Linked DNA regions of Homo sapiens: region 1 is linked to region 2. Evidence: promoter capture Hi-C in 16 types of primary human blood cells and fetal thymus (Javierre and others, 2016). All regions are on one chromosome and are shown on one strand. The core of a region is centred on a gene start or on the middle of the fragment in contact, and the rest is flanking DNA. Distances in the headings are between cores, read along the strand shown.

Region 1 (5,725 bases), core at 3,001-5,500, 3.6 Mb after region 2:
GTTTACTGCAGCATTGTTCACAATGGCCAAGACATGGAATCAACCTGAGTATCCATCAACAAGTGAATGAAGAAAATGTATATACAGAGAGGAATATTATTCAGTCATAAAAAAGAAGGAAATCCTGTCATTTGTGACAACATGGATGAACCTGGAGGAAATTATGTTAGGTAAAATAAGCCAGTCACAGATGCCACATGATCTCATTCATATGTGGAATATTAAAAAGTCAGTCTCAGAGAAGTAGAGAGTAGAATGGTGGTTACTAGCTGCTGAGGTGGTTTGGGGGGAGGTTGGGGAGATGTTGGTCAAAAGATAAAAAGTTTCAGCCAGTCAGGAGGAATAAATTCGAGAGATGTATTGTATACTATGGTAACTATAGTTAACATACTGTATTCTTGAAAATTGCTGAATGGATATAAAGTGTTCTTAGTGCAAAGATGATGACTATGTGAGATAGTATGTTATGTGTGGTGACATGTTACCATATGAGGTATGTGTGTTAATATGTTACTATGTGAGGTAATGTGTGTGGTGATATGTTACCATATGAGGTAGTATATGTGTTAATATGTTACTATGTGAGGTAATGTGTGTGGTAATATGTTACTATGTGAGTTAGTACATTGATTAGCTAGATTTAGTCATTCCATAGTGAATATATACTTCAAAACATCATGTTGTACAGGATAAATCTATACAATTTTATCTGTTGATTTAAAATTTATTTATTTATTTATTTATTGAGATAGAGTCTCGCTCTGTTGCCCAGGCTGGAGTGCAGTGGGATAATCTCGGTTCACTGCAACCTCTGCCTTCTAGGTTCAAGCGATTCTCCTGCCTCAGCCTCGCGAGTAGCTGGAACTACAGGTGTGCACCACCACACCCAGCTAATTTTGCATTTTTAGTAGAGATGGGGTTTCACCATGTTGGCCAGGCTGGTCTCAAACTCCTGACCTCAGGTGATCCCCACACCTTGGCCTCTCAAAATGCTGGGATTACAGGTGTGAGCCATGCCTGGCCTAAATTTTTTTTTAAAGAAAATATGCTATTTTGAAGAAAATATGTATGATGACATGTTACTATATGATGTATATGGTGATATGTTACTATGTGAGGTAATATGTATAGTAATATGTTACTATGTGAGGTATTGTGTGTGGTGATATGTTACTATGTGAAGTAGTATGTTACTATGATGTGAGGTAGTAAATTAATTAGCTAGATTTAGTCATTCCACAGTGAATATATACTTCAAAGCATCATATTGTACAGGATAAATCTCTACAAGTTAAATCTATTTAAATCTAAAAAGATAAATCTATTTAATTTTGTTTTTAAAAAAGAAAATATTACGCTGTTTTGAAGAAAACAGGCACATTTCTAAAACTGACTAATCAAAAACTATTAGCACTGCAAAGGGCTCTAAGCACAAAAGCGGTCAGTTATTTTTTTGATAAATAGTATACATTTCTTATTCAATAAAACCTTCTGAAATGCTACTCAGAGGCCAAGTAAAGCTGCAGCCTAATTTCCTAAGACTTCAATCTTTGCTTTGTTCCTGAATTTTCTCTTGCCTACTTCCAGTCCCAGAGAATGGGGTGCAGGGAGGAGGGTGGAGGAGGGTAGAAGAGGGGACAGAGGAGGGATGCGAGGTCAAGGGTGTGGGGGAGAAGAGCAGGACCGATAATGCAGAGCAGCTAATTCCTGAAAACTATAAAGTGGGTGGCTTTGAAGGCCTGAAGGGCTGTGCCCAGGTGTGCAATGGAGAAAGGGGTTTGCCAGCTCTTTGCTGGGCACCAGGGATCTAGGGTTCTGAGAGGAGTCCCTTATCCAAGGTGGACCCGGACAAGGAGATAACGAAAACATAGGTAGCATCCAACAGCATGCAGCACTATGGCATGCCAGCAGCCGTGCTGGGCGTTTTACAGATCTCTTTCAGGCTCAGAACAACCTTGCACATGAGGCGCTGTTTTCAGGCCCATTTTAGGGATGAGAAAACCGAGGTGATTAAGAGATTTACGAACTTTGCAGGCTGGGCGTGGTGGCACACGCTTGTCATCTCAGCACTTTGGGAGGCCAAGATGGGCAGATCACCTGAGATCAGGAGGTCAAGATCAGCCTGGCCAACCAACATGGTGAAACTCCCTCTCTACTAAAAATACAAAAATTAGCCAGGCGTGGTGGCGTGCACCTGTAATCCCAGCTAATTGGGAGGCTGAGGTGGGAGAATTGCTTGAACCCAAGAGGCGGAGGTTGCAGTGAGCTGAGATCACGCCACTGCACTCCAGCCTGGGCGACAGAGCGAGAATCCTTCTGAAAAAAAAGAAAAACTTGTTCGAGGTTCCAGAGCTAGTGGGAGATTGCACATTTGAGAAGGGTTAACCCACTTCTTGCCTTGCTTTCCCCATCCACTGGGGGGAAATCTCCTACCAGCGCCCTGCTTGTGTGAGGGGCAGAGCTCCAGTAGAGCTCCAGAGGGAATTTCTCACCCCTACAGCCAGATAGTGTTTACAATCAGATTGAATTAAATTTAAATAGTTTTTAAAAAGTGACCTTAATAATCAACAGGCAAAAGTGGCTCTGGGTGAAACAAAAGAAACTAGAGACCCCGTTGGTTGAGTTTGTAGTATTGTCTAGATTTCCTATATTATTGTTTGTTAGACAATTCTCTTTTATTTATTTATTTATTTTTATTTATTTATTCATTATTGAGATGGAGTCTTGCTCTGTTGCCCAGGCTGGAGTGCAGTGGCACGATCTCGGCTCAATGCAACCTCCACCTCCCAGGTTCAAGTGATTCTCCCTGCCTCAGCCTCCCCAGTAGCTGGGATTACAGGCACCCACCACCACGCCTGGCTAATTTTTTGTATTTTTAGTAGAGACAGGGTTTCGCCATGTTGGCCAGACTGGTCTCGAACTCCTGACCTCAGGTGATCCGCCCACCTCAGCCTCCCAAAGTGCTGGGATTACAGGCGTGAGCCACCGCACACGGCCATATCTGATAATTTTAAAAAATATATGTAAGTGCTTCTCCTGTGCTTATTGGCAGAGGTGGGAACAGACACTGGTCCCCTGGTTTCCATTTAAGTATTTCCCCCTGGAACCTGGATTTCTATCATGTCCTGAGTTCACGGCATTTCTGCCTGGCTCAGACCGAACACAATCCACACAAGTCTACTTCCACGTCCACAAAACTCCAGCTGATTCCTTGGCATTTTTTTTTTAAACAAAATACTTTTCATTATTCTGCTTAAAAAGCCTGTTAATATGGCTTATTTTCTTTTTGTACTTGGATAAGCTTAAAATGACTGCTTCACCAGCTTTTCCTTGGAAGTTCCCCACAGCAAGGGAAACTGACTGTGCTCACGGGTGTGGGGGTGGTAGAGTTTCGATATTTGTCCTTGCCCAAATCTCATGTTGAACTGGAGTCCCCAGTGTTGGAGGTGGGGTCTGGTTGGAGGTGACTGGATCACAGGGGCAGATTTCTCACGCATGGTTTAGCACCATCATCTTGGCACTGTCCCCATGATAGTGAGTGAGTTCTCATGAGATCCGGGGCCATTTAAAAGTGTGTGGTATTTCCCTGCTCTCTCTCTTGCTCCTGCTCCCCCTCTGCCATGATGGTACACTCCCTGAGGCCTTTCCAGAAACTGAGCAGATGCCTGTGTCATGCTTCCTGTACAGCCTGCAGAACCATGACTCAATGAAACCTCTTTTCTTTATAAATTACCCAGACTCAGATATTTCTTTTTCTTTCTTTCTTTCTTTTTTTGAGATGGAGTCTCGCTGTTCCTCAGGCTGGAGCGCAGTGGCACAATCTCGGCTCACTGCAACCTCCGCCTCCTGGTTTCAAGTGTTTCTCCTGCCTCAGCCTCCTGAGTAGCTGGGATTACAGGTGTGTGCCACCATGCCTGGCTAATTCTTTTGTATTTTTAGTAGAGATGGGGTTTCACTATGTTGGTCAGGCTTGTCTCGAACTGCTGACCTCGTGATCCTCCCACCTTGGCCTCTCAAAGTGCTGGGATTACATGCTTGAGCCACCATACCCAGCCTCAGGTATTTCGTTATAGCAATGCAAGAATGGACCAATACAAGGGGTGAGCCAGAAACTCCATTCCCAGCCCATTATTTCTGTAAAGTGACATCATTTATCTTAAAACTTCAGGTCATGTCTGACAGGTCACTTGACACTAACGATGACAGCTAAAACTTACTGAATTCTTCCTTGCCAAGTACCTGGGTTATATAGGTGCTTTACATTTGTTACCCTGTGAAATGTTCATAGCAGCTGTATGAAGCAGTTACTAATATTTTGTCCTCATTTTACAAGTGAAAAGACTGAAGTACAGAGAGGGCAAGTAACGAGGCCAAAGTCACAGCTGGCAAGGAGAGAGCCTGGATTCAACGTGGACAGCTAGCTTTAGAGCCTAGGCCGTTAACTTCTATGCTCTAGTATTTTCACATTATACTGGGGGTGGGATAGTCTAAAACAGTGGCCCTTGGTGGGGGGCAATTTGGCACCCCCAATCCTGCCAGGATAGTAGGCAATTCTGAAGACATTTGTGGTGTGTGTGCTACTGGCATACTGGACAAAGGGACAAAGGTGTGTGTGAGCTTGTGTTTGTGTGTGCTACTGGCATCTGGTGGGTAGAGGCCAAGGATGATGGTAAACACACCACATTATACAGGACAGCCTCCACACCAAAGAATTATTCAGCCCCAAATGCCAATAGCACCAAGGTTAGGTAACCCTAGTGTGAAAGCGTTTTAAACTGCTTGCTAGCTAAATTCCTTCATTTTCTTGTTAAACCTTCTCCAAGAAACACCATGTTATCCTGTGGCTTGTGGTTGTATGCCTCTGACATCACAATTTTGAAAGCCCTTTTGAGAATTTTGGCATCAAAGTGTGTGCAAGTGACAAAATCTCGTGAGGTCTTCTGATGTCCTGAGGTTTAAGGGCAGGAAATTTTTTGTCCACCTACCTTCTCTGACCGGACGGTGAACAACAAATGGAGTTTTCCTTCTTTAGCCACCAATGGCAAAAGGACGGAGTATTTGTTATATGGCAAGTGAGAATATTTGCCTCCAATATCATACTTTCTTAAGCGGGCCTTAGCATCATCTAGCAAACTGTTTCTAAAATAAAAACAAACCAGACAGACATTTTAGCAAGCAGAGTTATGGTAAAAAGCTTATAGTCCTGCCTCTGTTTCTGCTTTGTTGTGTATTTAGGAGTTTGCCATTTCTGACTCTCTGTGTATTTTTCAATAACACGACAGAAATGATACTATCTAAATTGCGTGGTTGTTCGCAAGATGAAAATGACAAAAAAACCTTCTAAGCACACAGTTTAGTACACAGGTTCTCTTTGAAACATAAAGTATGGTAAAATGTTTTTTCAATAATGCAACAGTTGAATTTTGAAACCCATAATTATATTCAGAGAAGACAGGTTTGATGAAAAAGTCATTGTTAAGGTTAGAAGGTTAGAAGACTACCTTCTGTTAAGCTGGCCCTTATGTTCTCAAACTCTTATGTCTTCAACTGCTTATAATAGTGGTTCCCAAGCTTTAGCAGCAACAGAATCACCTGGAGCGCTGGCTGTCACATAGACTGCGAGGTTCAGTCCCAGACTGTGACTCAGTAACTCTGGTGTAGGGCCTGAGAATTAGCATTTGTATCAAACTCCCTCATGACAGCGTTACTGACGCTGTGGACAGGG
Region 2 (5,711 bases), core at 89-2,588:
CTTTTTCTGACCTGTCAATTGTAGTGATATTCTCTACCACTAGCTTATATTTAACCAGCTTACTGGTCAGTTTCTCCAGTTTTTAGCATTCCCCCCTTTCCTTTTATTAAAACAGCAACCTAGTTTGCAAGAAGGTTGCTAAAAGAAAAGATAGTCTCCTGCAAGATCTGATACACTTGTATAAGCACTGTCTTATCAACCTTTTAATTAACCTGGTTAGTTGAGTTGGCAAATCAGGTTAAGCTTTGCTTTACTAAAGTATTAAAATGCCCTTTGTCGCAAGGCTCTCACGGTCCTCGGGTTGTAACAGCATCCTGAGAATTCGCTACAGTTTACTTCAACGTGTAACTCCTCTTTTAAACAGTTACCAGAATGGAGCGGAAAAGACACGTTTGGCAAGGAGAATTTCGCCCGGAGGTTCGGACTACCAACCCAAGGAGAACATCGAGAGGGTTTTCTCTGCCTGCACCCAGCGAGGCGCTGTCTGTCTGGCCTCCCAGCGGGCAGGGCGCTCCCCGCCTGGTTGGCGGCGCCGGCCCAGCCCCCGCGCGTGGATTCAGAGGCGAGCGACTGGCGAACTTCAGCGGGGACCGCGGGCCCGGCCTGGGCGAGGGGGTGACTCTTCCCCGGCGCGGCCTCGCCCAGCCCGCAGGTGCGGGTCCCGGCCGGCCCAGGACGGCGTCTGGGGGCCTCAGGGTCTCCGAGGTCGGGCGCTCGCCGCGGCGGTGGGAACCGGGAGGGACAAGGCGGGGGATCGCGGCCCGGGTCCGGGGACAACTCCAAGGGGCGCGGGGGTCCAGTGGGGAGCGCGGGCCTGGAAGCCACAGAGGCCGCCTGGGGGACGCGGTCAGCGGGGCCGGGTTCCGGCGCTTGCCGGGAGGGACGCCGCGCCAACGGTGACGCGGGGACCCCGGCGCCGGGGACAGGGGACAGGGTCTGGGGGCCACGCCCGGCCCGGCCGCCCCGCCTCCGGCTCCGGGCAGCACCGCCGCGCCCGCCCGCCGTAGCCCCCTCCCCACCTGATGTACGGGCTGGCCGCCGCCAGGATGTTCTTCTGCACCGGGATCTCCTCCCCGTCGAGGACCAGGTGCGCGTCGCAGAAGCGAGACTCCTCGCGGAAAGAGCTGAGCGCTCGCAGCAGACGCGCGGCGTGCTGAGGGTCAGACACGGCACTGCCCTCAGCCATCGCGGCGCCCGCTCCTCTGCCGACGGGTCCGGCTCCCGACACCGTCCGGCCGGACCCCTCGAGCGGCCCGAGTCCTGCGCGCGCGCCCGCCCGGCCCGGCTCTCCGCGCTCTGAGCAGAAGCTGGAGCCCCCGGGACGTGCCTGTGCTATCCGCGGCGCGCTGGGCCGGCGCCTTTAAGAAGCCGCGTCATGAAGTCATTTCTCCGCGACGCCCCCGCACCGTCGCTCCCCGCCTTCTCGCCTCCGCTGCTGGAGATGGCCAATCAGAAGCCTCCTTCCTCCGCCCGCCTGACCAGCTGCGGCTGGGTGCAGCGGAAGGTGTCTACGGATGAGATAGGTCGCTCCCGCGATGGAGGGATGTGCGGGCGGGCTAGGATTCCGTGGTTAAGCCTGTGGCCTCTGGAGCCGCGAGTTTGAATCCTGGTTGCAGCTGTTCCACTTACTAGCTCTGTGGCCATGGGTAAGGTGCCCATCCTCAGTTTCTCCGTCTGCAAAATGAAAGCGAATTCTTAGTGTTGTTGTGGACTCATGAGATGATGCATGGAAGCAAGGGCGAAGTCGCTGTAGCTTTCTTTATTTATGAGAGAAAAGGAGCTGCCCAGGTGAGAGGACAAAAACCCGAGAAAACAGACCCGGAAAAGATGGTTTTGGTTGCGGGCTAGGAAGGAGATGTAGCAGATGAAGCTGGAGAAGTCCGAAGGAGGCCTTAAATTTTGCAGGGCCTCCTTGGTGTGGGAAGGAGTTTGGTTTCTGCAGTGGTGAAGAACCATGGAAGTACCGTATTTAGCAGGGGATTTTGTGCAGGTCACTCAGCTCCTGCGTGGAGAATAAGGCGGGGATGGATGTGCTAAAGGCAGATCGATGCTTAGGTATTGCAGGACTAGAGAGAAGGGAATGGGCACCTGGATGAAAGGGTGATGCGGGGGCGGGGGTAGACAATAGTGGATTGTTTTAAAAGAAATTGTGAGGGAGAGGGAGTTAAGGATAAATATTCTGTTTGAGTAACTGCATGCATGTTTGCACCTTTCAGGGAGAGCTAGGAAATGCTGAAGGGGTGGGCAGTAGAGAGGCAGATGTTTAGATTCAGACAGGCTCCCAACCCAGTGAAGATCAAAGCTGTGATAGAAAGGATCGCTGGGTCAGCTCAGCTGGCAGGCCAAGCCCCACGGTATCTGAAGTTTCCCTGGAGGTTGCTCAGGGCACATGGGAGTGTGGAATGTAGCAACCATTTTGTGCAAACGTTAGGGACTCCATAAGCCTCTAAAAAATTAGCAATTGTATGAGGACTCCGGACCAGAAGAATGTGGCTAGCATTCCAGGCAAGACAGGATGGAATTTTCACTGTCCTTCAACCAACTGAAAGGCTCCAATAAAGTCTTGGGTATTTACCCTGAACCAGCCAAGGCTTTGGAGTCACTGGCAGGAATCCGAGTATCTAACTGTTTTCAGGGCAGAATAGATGGGGAGGGTACGGCTGTGGAAGACACATGCATTTCCACTTTCTTCTGTAAATGCAGCTCAGTGTTCCCGGATGCAATGATAAAGATGTCTAGGATTTGCTTCAAAACAAAACAAAGGGATGGGGAAGCAGATGGGAGTGTAGATGAGTCAAAAGTGGCCGCAAGTTACTAATTGTTAAAGCCACGTAATGGGGATGTGGAGATTCGTTGTACTGTCTCTATATTGTTGTGGATGTTTAATGGGGATGTGGAGATTCATTGTACTGTTTCTATATTTTTGTGGATGTTGAAAAATATTTTCTTCTTTCTTTTTTTTTTTTGAGATGGAGTCTCCCTCTATTGCCCAGGCTGGAGTGCAGTTGTGCAATCTCTGTTCACTGCAACCTCCGCCTCCCGGGTTCAAGTGGTTCTCCTGCCTCAGCCTCCCAAGTAGCTGGGACTACAGGCATGTGCCACCATGCCTGGCTAACTTTTGCATCTTTAGTAGAGATGGGGTTTTACCATGTTGGCCAGGCTGGTATCGAACTCCTGACCTTGTGATCCGCCCACCTTGGCTTCCCAAAGTACTGGAATTACAGGCATAAGCCACCACACCCGGCCGAAAAATATATTTAAAAAGGTAAGAAACACACAAGACAAGCAGCTTGGACTTATCTTCTCCATGATACCTACCCAGTATCCCTGTGAGCAGCTGACATTCCTTTCTCCAAGCAGTTGCTGTATTTTGAACATTGCTCGAGCAAGAAACTTTTTATAATGGGTTTATTTATCCATGTCACCTGCTATACTATGTTTATTGTAGCTCAGCATGATTTCCAGGTACCAAGCACAGTACTTGGTGCGTAATAGTGCTAACTGAATGTTGGATGGATGGAGGGATTAAAAAAAAGAAAAACACCTGAATATCAGACACTTAATAAATGTTTCTTGGGAGGCCGAGATGGGCGGATCACGAGGTCAGAAGTTCGAGACCAGCCTGGCCAACATGGTAAAACGCCGTCTCTACTAAAAATACAAAAATTAGCTAGGTGTGGTGGCAGGCACCTGTAATCCCCACTGCTCAGGAGGCTGAGGCAGGAGAATCACTTGAGCCCGGGAGGCAGAGGTTGCAGTGAGCCGAGATCACGCCATTGCACTCCAGCCTGGGTGACAGAGCAAGACTCTGTCTCAAAAAAAATAAAAAATAAAATAAATAAATGTTTTCTGAACTGTATTCTCTATCTGTTCTTAGTTAATTTGTGTTTGCCATTTTTAAAGTCAAAAACCAGGGAGAGTTCTCTACACAATGTAAATATTTGATAAGTACTTATTAATTGCTTATTGTGCTAGTCTATTCTTTAAATATCAGAGGTTCCAAAACAAAGAGCTCCAATAGTAGGATCACAGTCAGGTAACCAATTATCCGAGTAGGAAGGTTGCCTTAGTTGAAGTAACTGGAGGTGAATGGGGATTTGTCAGGCAGGCTCTTCCAGATAAAGGTGAACCTTCCCTGTTGTTTTGATAGAAGGAGGAAATGGAATGACCATCAAGAGAAAGGTAGTTGCTGGCTTGAGAGGATCATCTGTGCAACAGGCAGCTAAGCAGAAGAAGACTTTATATATATTTTTAATACCACCCACACTGTTGCTAGTATTCCCCACCACTCCATTGGCCTGGTGAACTCTTATTCATCCTTCAAAACCCAGCTTAACCATGGCCTTCAGGAAATCTTGAGCTGGCTTCCCAGGACAGAGTGGGTCAGTCCTCTGCATGCTCCTGCTGCTGTGCTGTACTCACCATACTGTACTGTAATTTACTGGTTTGTAAGTCATTTCCACTGCTGGGTTGTGAGCTCCTCCAAGGCAGGGGCTTTGCCTTATCTGCCTATGTTCCCAGGACTTACACAGTGCCTGATGTGTAGTAGGTACCCCATGAATGTTTTACATAATTAGCAGGAGCGTATCAGGTAAATTAGCAAAGCAAACTGTGGGATGTGGGATGTCAGACAATAGGAGTAGGTGGGCTTATGGGAGCTGAAGAGCACATGCTCCTCAGCTCTGATTGATTGCTCTGTGCGATAGGGGCCCAGTGGTGGTGGATCTAACAACTTTTTAAGAGATTCTGACAATTCAGACTTTACATGTTGAATATTCCGGATTTTCAACATTAGCAACTAATTCCATTTGGAGGAAAAAATGTAGCATGGGTCTACAGACAAGATCTGGCTGTAATTCATGTTCAGAGGTAATCAGGAAACGATTAGTTTACTGAAAATGTAGTCGACAATCAAATGGCTGCTAGGTTGCCAATAAAATGTGTTGAGTGGAATTCACATGCCCCAGAAAGCTCCTCCTGGTGCTGTGGGCAAGGAAGAGGGCCCAAGTGTGGGAAGAAGGATTCAGGAGGCAGAGCCAACTCTCCCAGTGCTGCCGGAGCCACTCTTGCTTGAGCTGAAGTACTGTGGACTGTTTTGCAGCCTTCTTGATATTGCTCAAACTGAGCCACCCTTGATATTGTGCCTATCAGAATGATGGATTAAATGTTATTGTTTCCTTATATTCCATAGGCATCAGATATCAACTGTCATTGTGAAACATATTACAATGTAAGAGATTTGATATTGTCCTAACAGCTTTAGTCTCTGGTGGCTTTACTGAGCTCTTCTGGTTTAGAGGTGAAACAACCCAGAGAAAGGATTTATTTATGTATTCGTTTTTGGTCTGAAGACCAAAAAGGATGTTTGCAAGATATTAACAGTAATCATTCATTCAACAACTGTTTTTAAAGCACCTGCTGTACGATACCTGCTACAGATACAGTGATGGTGAAAGTATAGTTGTCTCAGTGTTATTATAGAAGCTTTTACTCTGTATTTTCCTCGATTTCTATTTTCTGTACTGATCATGCATAATTTTTTACAATCATTAAAAAAACAAGAAAGCAATGTCTTTTTGCAAAAAGGGAAAAAAAAGCTTTCTTTTGCTTTGAAAAATGTGCCCTCAAGAGAGGAATCCACTTGGGGGGTTGGGCTTTTATTTCCTAAAAACTACTTAGAGAGTCCAGTAAGAGAAATAATGCAAAGAAAA

Evidence for each region. Contacts are between HindIII fragments. The CHiCAGO score rates a contact against its expected background, and 5 or more counts as called.
Region 1: a fragment that was not itself captured here is called in contact with the fragment with the promoter of GAN in region 2 in 1 of 17 cell types (activated CD4 T cells); the score reaches 6.1 in activated CD4 T cells.

What each region holds. Positions count from the first base shown.
Region 1 is chr16:77,724,845-77,730,569 of GRCh38, reverse strand. It overlaps NUDT7 (nudix hydrolase 7), which reads right to left. Exons shown (of 4, transcript NM_001105663.3): 2 at 4,986-5,139. Among named protein-coding and RNA genes, the nearest start is that of NUDT7, 5.2 kb to the right of the region's middle. The HindIII fragment of the contact is 1,893 bases long and covers 3,304-5,196 here.
Region 2 is chr16:81,310,589-81,316,299 of GRCh38, reverse strand. It overlaps GAN (gigaxonin), which reads right to left and starts at 1,338. Exons shown (of 11, transcript NM_022041.4): 1 at 1,020-1,338. The coding sequence starts at 1,186. RefSeq lists silencers at 462-731, 752-811, 952-1,291 and an enhancer at 1,302-1,501. The HindIII fragment of the contact is 5,241 bases long and covers 246-5,486 here.